Regions from separate parts of the Homo sapiens genome. Here regions 2 and 3 are each linked to region 1. The links are contacts of gene promoters, found by promoter capture Hi-C in blood cells and fetal thymus (Javierre and others, 2016). All regions are on one chromosome and are shown on one strand. Each heading gives the region's core, a stretch centred on a gene start or on the middle of the fragment in contact. The rest is flanking DNA. Distances are from core to core; before and after follow the strand shown. Region 1 holds the start of KPLCE (KPRP N-terminal and LCE C-terminal like protein). Region 2 has its middle 12 kb from the start of PRR9. Region 3 has its middle 21 kb from the start of SPRR2G.

Region 1 (2,668 bases), core at 75-2,574:
ATTTTAGTTTGATTCTCTGAGCTACACTTAGCTTTTGGCACAGTGTATGAAAAATTGAGAATCTAACTATAACTTGGATAAGTCCTGAAGACTCAAGTGACCTGGAAACAGCTTCATTAGAGACAGATCACATAGGCATCACTCATAACTTATAGGAAAAGGAGACTGACTTGTTTCCTGAGGAAGGGAACAGGAATCATTTATCTAGTGTTTGGGAAAACCCAATGTCAAGCACAGACATGCCCTGCCTCTGACTGAGGAGCCAGGCATACTGGGGAGGAATCTTGCCAATGCAACACCATCCCTTCTCCTTGTGATCTCTGGTGCTTCATTTAGATGCCATTAAATTGCCTCATTGCTGCCCTATAAAAGGTCTCCCCACCTGCTAGTTTTTCAGATCACTGACTTCTTCCAGTCTTGCTCCTATCAGCAAAGAGGGTAAGTCTCTATACGGGATAAGGACATGGTGAGAAACAGAGCTTTGGGGAAGCTGGGGTGGGATGAGAGCTGTGGGATGAAGGGTGAGCGAGGACTAGATGCTTAGGAAATCTGCTGAAGGAGGCTGAAAGCAATGCTGGTGGGAAACTTGGAGCCTGGGGCATGAGAGGAGAGGGAGGGGGACACGATGAGCTGGCATTCCTGTTTAAGAAGGGACTTTAGAGAACTGGCTCCCCATCCCCTTATCTGAATGCAATTGTGCAGTCCTCTCTTGGGTCTATGTGCTAATGAGGCCAACTGATTAGTCCAGCTGGTTCAAGGAGCACCTGGTAGAAACCTGCTCAAATTTAGCCTTGTTCTTTGCTCAGTACCGGGCACAGCTTGAGGCTCATGTTGGCTCAGGGTCCATGGACATAAATTTGTCTTTGCTGGGTATTCCTTGTCTGGGCAGAAGGAAGAAGGGAAGTCACCCTGGAGAGAACTGGTGGCAGGGGTCAATCATCTGGGAGCAGCAATTTCCAAAGGGTAATTCACAATGCAGACACTGAAGAAAGAGGAGAGGAGGCTTGGAGAGTTGGGTAGAAACACAGGCAGCACCATTTCAAGCCTCCATTTCCCAATATAGAGACTGAGGCCCAGAGGTAAGCGATGACTTGTACCAAGCCACATAGCCAGGTACAGGCACAGAAGCTGAGCTGAGAGTCCCTGGCTCTGAATCCACCTCCTGCCAAGTATACAGCCTCTGGATGTCTGCAACCTTCTCAAGAAAGCCTTGCTTGCAAATCACTGTATTCAAAGGGGATGTTGAAGGTTTCCCCTAGAAACCTTCCTGGTTTTACAGTTCTAATGAAACCTTTCTTTTCAGATTTTGCAAAGCCACAGAACAATGTGTGACCAGCAGAAGCAGCCACAGTTCCCTCCATCTTGTGTGAAAGGTTCGGGACTAGGGGCTGGGCAGGGTAGCAATGGTGCCTCTGTGAAATGCCCAGTTCCATGCCAGACCCAAACTGTCTGTGTGACAGGCCCTGCTCCATGCCCTACTCAAACTTATGTGAAGTACCAAGTTCCATGCCAGACTCAAACCTACGTGAAGTGCCCAGCTCCCTGCCAGAGGACCTATGTGAAATACCCAACACCCTGCCAAACCTATGTGAAGTGCCCAGCTCCCTGCCAGACAACCTATGTAAAATGCCCAACTCCCTGCCAAACCTACGTGAAGTGCCCAGCTCCCTGCCAGATGACCTACATCAAAAGTCCAGCTCCCTGCCAGACCCAGACGTGCTATGTCCAGGGTGCTTCTCCTTGCCAGAGCTATTATGTTCAAGCTCCTGCAAGTGGCTCAACCTCCCAGTACTGTGTCACTGACCCATGCTCTGCTCCCTGTTCCACCAGCTACTGCTGTCTGGCTCCCCGGACCTTCGGGGTGAGTCCCCTGAGACGCTGGATTCAGCGGCCCCAGAACTGCAACACAGGATCATCTGGCTGCTGTGAGAATTCGGGAAGCTCTGGATGCTGTGGTTCTGGGGGCTGTGGCTGCAGCTGTGGATGTGGCAGCTCTGGGTGCTGCTGTTTGGGAATTATCCCCATGAGGTCCCGAGGTCCTGCATGCTGTGACCATGAGGATGACTGCTGCTGCTAAACATACGACAGCTCAACTCCAGAATGCACTGCCCCGCTACCCCTTCTGGAACATGCACCAGCTTCTGGCCCCCTCTCTGTTAGTGCCAGTGATGTAGAACCTCATCACTTTGCCTCTGTGCTTTGCTTCTCTACCAAGGCAGCCTGCCAGAGTTAGTACAGTCCCCAAACTTTGGCATGAATAAAGCTCTGAATGCATTTCGTGGTAATTTCTGTCTGTTTGTTTGGTCCATATTTATGCTTTTCTATCAGGCACTCTTCTGCATCCCTCTCTTCTTACTCTTGTTTCTCAGCTAGAGGAAAGATCTGCACGAACATGAACAAGCAGACTGAGCTGGTGAAATCCCAGCCTGGGAGCCCCATGCCTTCTAGAATGCTGTGAATAAACTTTCCCACGCAAGTTAGAAGCATCTGAAAATGGAGATTTGAGGGTTGGGGCTGTTTCTGTGCTGCCCTTTGATGAGCCTCAGAGCAGGGTTGACCATGATGAGACCCTCATCTTCCTGGGTGTTGGAGAGATTGTGAAATTGTATCTGCTCATGGACCAGTATCACTGGTCATGGTCAGTATCACTGGACCATGTCTCCACCAC
Region 2 (2,668 bases), core at 83-2,582, 510 kb after region 1:
CAGGTTTGGGTGCAGTCCAGGTAAGAAGACCAGGGGCTCAGTTTTGAACCTGTCAATTTTGAGACGCATACAGAATAACCAAGCAGAAATACAAAGTAAGCACTTACATCTATGAGTCAGGAGCGCGGGAAAAATTCAGGAATGGAGATCTACACTTGGGAGCCATCATCGTAGGGGTAGCATTCTAGCTTTGGGGTGTATAGATCATCCAGTGACAGAATATAGATTAAGAAAAGAAGGGAACTTAAGACCATGCCCTGAGAAACCTCAACAGCTAAAGGTTGAGAAGAGAGAGAGCCCTTGGCAAAAGATTAAGAAGGAGTCAATGATTTAAGAGAAAAGTCAGGAAGGAGAGAGTGTGCAAAATGCTGAATGCCACTGAGGATCAGGAAGTGCCCACACTGAGTGACAACATGGAGAGCAGGCATGGGGGTGGGAGGGTCCAGCCAGGCTGGTCACCCAGGGATTGCTCAAATACTGGAACCTCTTCCCACTCACTTCTCTTCTTCTAAGGCACAGTGGTTTGCCATTAGATCCTGGTACATGGGAATAAGTGAGTGAATGAATGATAAATGATCTGAGGACCCAAAAGGTTTAACAGCTTGACCAAGATTATCCGGCCAGTAAGTATCAATGCCAGAGCTGAAACCCAGCTCATCTGATTCCAATGCCCATATTCTTGGTTTAAAAATACAAGCTTTAACCCAGGGGAAATACCTTTGATGACACACTCTCTGTCATGTTTAATATCATACTTTAAGGACTATTATACTTATCTCTAAAACTGAATCTATGGCTTAGGAGTTCATCAAAAACTAGGGTAGGGAGTGAGAGGCATCCCCTAAGGTCGCCTATCCAGGGGATAATGCATGAAGGAATAACCTTTACACTAAATGAATGTATAGTTTGGGTTACATCCTTGAGACCCTGTCTCAACTGACGAGCATGTGAGAGTCTGGCCACTCGCCCTGTAGGGCCAGCTCAGAGGGGAGCTTGGTGTTCTGGAGTTGTCGGTCAGGGGTGATGGTGGTGACTGTGGTATCGTGGGGGCCACCACCGCCATTCATGGTTGAAAGAAAAGAGGTGGTCAGCTGGCAGGGCCTTCTCAACTCAACCTCCCTCATCACCCGGTTCCCAAGCCAGCCTCATAACCAGTCCTCCCTCCTTTAGAAGCCGCTGGGGACCCCTTTTCTCTTCTCTTCCCAACAGCACCACCTGCTGGCCATAGAGGCACTTGGCCTTCTACTAATCACACCCAGTCTGGCCTGAGTTGGAGATGGCCGCACACACTCGGGTCCAGTCAATGCTCCATGTGGAGAAGACAAGAGTACAGAGATGCAGCATCTAACAGAGTCAGAGGAAGGCTATATGTGCAAGACAGAGTTACATTACTTATAGGGTGGGAGCAACACGAATAATGGTTCAGGACATAGGCTCAGGAATCAGACTTCTGGAATTCAAATCTAGACTCCACCACTTCTATTGTTCCCTTAAAACAAATTTCTCCTATGTGAGAGTAAGTGACACAGAATCTCCTATGAGCCAAGCACTGGAGTTACAGCAGCGAACCAGATACACAGAATCCCTGCCTCCCAGAGCTCACATGAGGAGGAAGACAGACAAAAAGCAACTCAGCAAATGCATAAATAAGAAATTGAAGAAAATGAAACAAAATGACCAGGGAAGAGGGGTGCTCTTTAGCTCGGGTAATGTGGAAAGGCCGATCTGAGGTGAGAGCAACAGAAATGATGGGTTACATGATGGTGGCAATGGCAGCGTGCTGGAGGTGAGAGGAAATCTGAGGGAACATTTTCTTGAATGTGAATTGACTGACAAAAGTGTCACTGAACACATTACCTTTGATTCCTAAATAGCCAGAATGACAAAGCCTATCTGTAGATTACTCATTGTGTTCTCATTCATTTATTTTTTCATTCAACAAATCTTTGTTGAGTAGCTACTGTATGCCAAGCTTTCCTTTAGGTGCTGGAGATGTAGCAGTAAACAGACCAAAAGTGCTGTTTTTGTGGAGTTTACACTTAGAGGACACCAAAAGCTCATTTATCCATTCACTGAGCTCCTGCTGAGCACCTAATGCCAAGCATGATGCCAGACACTGATGGGTCCCAGACCCTAAACAATAGGGCTATCTTGGGGTGGGCACATTGTGGCCAGGGTGAATATGCACCTGCATCTGTTTAGGTTTGTTCACAGGCATAAACACACACCTGCCTGAGCATGTATCCCATCAAACCTCAGACAACATGTATATACTGTTCAGATGTTTTTCAAAATGCATCGGGAAGACCCCGAAGGGGTCTCAGTAGAGGCTTTTTATTTGATTCAAAGCTTCAAAAGATTATTCCATCTGCAAAATGTATAAAGGCTGGATGTTGGAGGAAGCATGAAATAGGGAGAGGAAGGACCTGCTACTAGAGTTATGGCTAAAGGTGGTAGATGGCAGCAGTGGAGACAAAGACAAGAGGGTGACGCTAAGTGTTTTGGAGGAATAACTAACAGGAGTAGCAGGGGGACTCAATGTGTGGGGTAAAGGAGGAGAAAGAAGGCAGAAATACTCCCAAGTTTATGGCTTAGGCCACTAGGTGGATGCAGAGAGGTGAGGACTAGGAGATATGTGGGTACATGTCTGAAGCTCAGAGATATCTGG
Region 3 (2,668 bases), core at 122-2,621, 450 kb after region 1:
GACACAGAAATTCTCAAAGACCTAGAAGATCCAGGATCCACGATCAGCTCATTCCACCCTCTTTGGCCTTGGCAGTGACATCACATGGGAGGGTCAATCCTCCCTCTTTTCACGGAAGAGTACTTTGCTTGGCAAGGCTGTTCTTGTCACTAGTGTTTATTTGTTCACACCTGCCTTAAATGCCAGTATGACTGAAATGTTGAAACTCTCTCATCTTCATTGGTTTAGCCTAAATTTTCCCAGGCAATTAGTTTCTCTGAATATGAGCAGGTAAACACCCTTCCTTCCTCCACCCTTTTCCCGGCCGTCCTGGGACTACTTGAAACACAGGTGTGTCTTACCACACACAAACACTAAAACTCAAAAAGAGAGTAAATAACAATTACAGCTACTATTGAGCTAATGGATTGCATATAAACATTCAAGATTCTTGGACTACAGGAGCCTTTACACCCACTCGCCTCCCCAGGAATGCTTCCCTGTATTCATTCATCAGACTGACATTTGAGAATTTGGGTTATACGGACTTGTGTGATCACACCATATACCCTTTCAGTACCTGAATCTCCACTGCACATGCCACCGCTTTTCCTCCACCCAGCCTACCACCACTCACCACTACGGACATTTCTTCAGCAGATAATTGCTCACTTTTTCCACTGGCTAGGGCTTGGGTATCATGCACCAAAATGCTGAAAGTTGACTGGAAACCCTGTGTATTCATCTCTGGTGAACAGCCACCTCTCAACTTCACAGCTGCCAACAGATGGTGGTCCCATCTCCCTGGCACAGATAGTGAAGTCTCTTTTTTTGCCCAGGTATGGTTCCATAAGCACAGTTTTCCCTACCAAATAATACAACAAAGCAAACACATCAACCAGTGAAATTAGTGGATGTCTAACATTACCCAAAGACCACAATTCCCCTCTTGAGCTCTGCCCAATGCTTCTGCCCTCCCCTCCCATGCCCCCCGAATCCCCAGCCCTGTACTCCAGCTATCAGTATCTACGTCTGTCCTTTGGCCATGTACTAAGGACTTGTTCAGACCTTCTTCTTTGGTTTACCAATTTCCTTTTACACTCAACTTTAATCCTCCATTGAAATTGGAGCGACCTACAGCTTCAGGTATCCAGCATCCTCCTGAATACATGAGACAAGTGACAGTCAAGCCATGTCCCATGAGAGGACCAGGAATTGGCTTCCACTCTACTTCACCTCTCACCTTCCAGGGTCTATCAACACTCCCTGACTGAAAAAACTATCCTTAAATTATAACTCTCATGCTCAGAAGACCAGGTCTACTTCTCCAGACTGTCCCATTTAGTTTTTTCTAATGAACCTTTTTATCTATCAATTCCACAGAGTTCTTTCCTGGTGGCACCTATCACAATACGTGGTCTGGTCTCATGCGGTTGACTTTTGCTGTAGCATTACAACATAAGTTCAAGTCTTCTATCACTAACCTACCACCTACCAGTCCTTGCACACATCCTTCCCCCACTCAAGAGTCCTGCCCCCAATGCACCTCATTGCACCTTTCCTTTGGCTGCCCCCACAGAGACCCCAGAGATACTGTGGGAAAGGGCTTCTGTGTCCTCTTTCTCCCAGGCTACCCTTCCTCAGGAGATGGAAACCTTGCTAGTCACTCAATACCTGCAAAACTGGAGTTTCCGGTACAAAAAAAGAGTTAGACACATCACATTAGTAACTGGAATGAGGCACCCAAAAAACGGAAAACTGGGGCAAACCCTTTTGTTTTCCAAAAGTTTGACTGTGCTTGGGATCAAAGGTACAAGATTACTTTTTATGCCACCTTAATCCTCTGAAGCAGGAAGTTGAAGAAGAGACAGCTACTGGGATTATCCCTAAAAGGAGAGAAGAGTTCCATTAGGGCTTGGGCTAGCCTTCATCTGGGCCGGAAGAAGATTGTATGGTTGGACTGACAGTGACCACTTTTTTCAAGGTGGGGTTTTAAAGAATTAGGATAGTTAAGTGCATAAATAGACAGGCGGACAAACATAATATAATTCTAGAATTAACTTTGGAACTCTTACAAGTCTTCAATATTAGAGATGAAGAAATAAAGTCATGGAGATACTGAGGAACTTCACTCAGACAGCACAGCTGGTTAATGTCAGTAAAGCTAGCATCCACATGTTCACATCCTATCTCACGTTCTTTCTACAACCCCAAGAGGGCTTACTTCACTTAAATTGAAGTCAAATCCCAGCTATTCAGAAACCACAAAGAACAGTCTTCAAATGAGGACACAGACCTGAGAATTTGAGTGAAGGCCTTGGGACAGAACATGGCTAACACTTCCAGAACCCCCAGGCTTGTGATATTCGATTACTCCCTGGCTGCTCTTTCAGAGCCTGTGGTTTGGACAATAAGAAAGAGTGAAGTTGTCCTACAGACAGAGGGAAATAAATATGGAGGTTGTCCTACAGAGAGAGGGAAATAAATAGAGGGAAATGATGGAGGCTCTAAAGGGAAGTCAAACAGAAAAAAAAATCTCAGATAAGAAAAGGAATCATGGGATCAGAAGCACATATTGAATGGAAATCTGCTCTAAAATACCTCCTGATGGTCTTTCAGCCTCTGCTTGAAGTCTGTCCACAATAGAGTGCTCTGTACAAGGGAGGCAACCAGATTTATTATTAATGAA

The links. Contacts are between HindIII fragments. The CHiCAGO score rates a contact against its expected background, and 5 or more counts as called.
Region 2: a fragment that was not itself captured here is called in contact with the fragment with the promoter of KPLCE in region 1 in 4 of 17 cell types (M0 macrophages, megakaryocytes, erythroblasts and 1 more); the score reaches 6.4 in M0 macrophages.
Region 3: a fragment that was not itself captured here is called in contact with the fragment with the promoter of KPLCE in region 1 in 4 of 17 cell types (M0 macrophages, endothelial precursors, M2 macrophages and 1 more); the score reaches 8.6 in M0 macrophages.

The regions. Positions count from the first base shown.
Region 1 is chr1:152,718,198-152,720,865 of GRCh38, forward strand. It overlaps KPLCE (KPRP N-terminal and LCE C-terminal like protein), which reads left to right and starts at 1,325. Exons shown (of 1, transcript NM_001024679.3): 1 at 1,325-2,273. The coding sequence starts at 1,325. The coding sequence ends at 2,077. The HindIII fragment of the contact is 5,275 bases long and covers 1-2,668 here.
Region 2 is chr1:153,228,245-153,230,912 of GRCh38, forward strand. No RefSeq gene overlaps it. Among named protein-coding and RNA genes, the nearest start is that of PRR9, 12 kb to the left of the region's middle. The HindIII fragment of the contact is 1,275 bases long and covers 696-1,970 here.
Region 3 is chr1:153,170,945-153,173,612 of GRCh38, forward strand. It overlaps a transcript of SPRR2G not described here. Among named protein-coding and RNA genes, the nearest start is that of SPRR2G, 21 kb to the left of the region's middle. The HindIII fragment of the contact is 3,626 bases long and covers 1-2,668 here.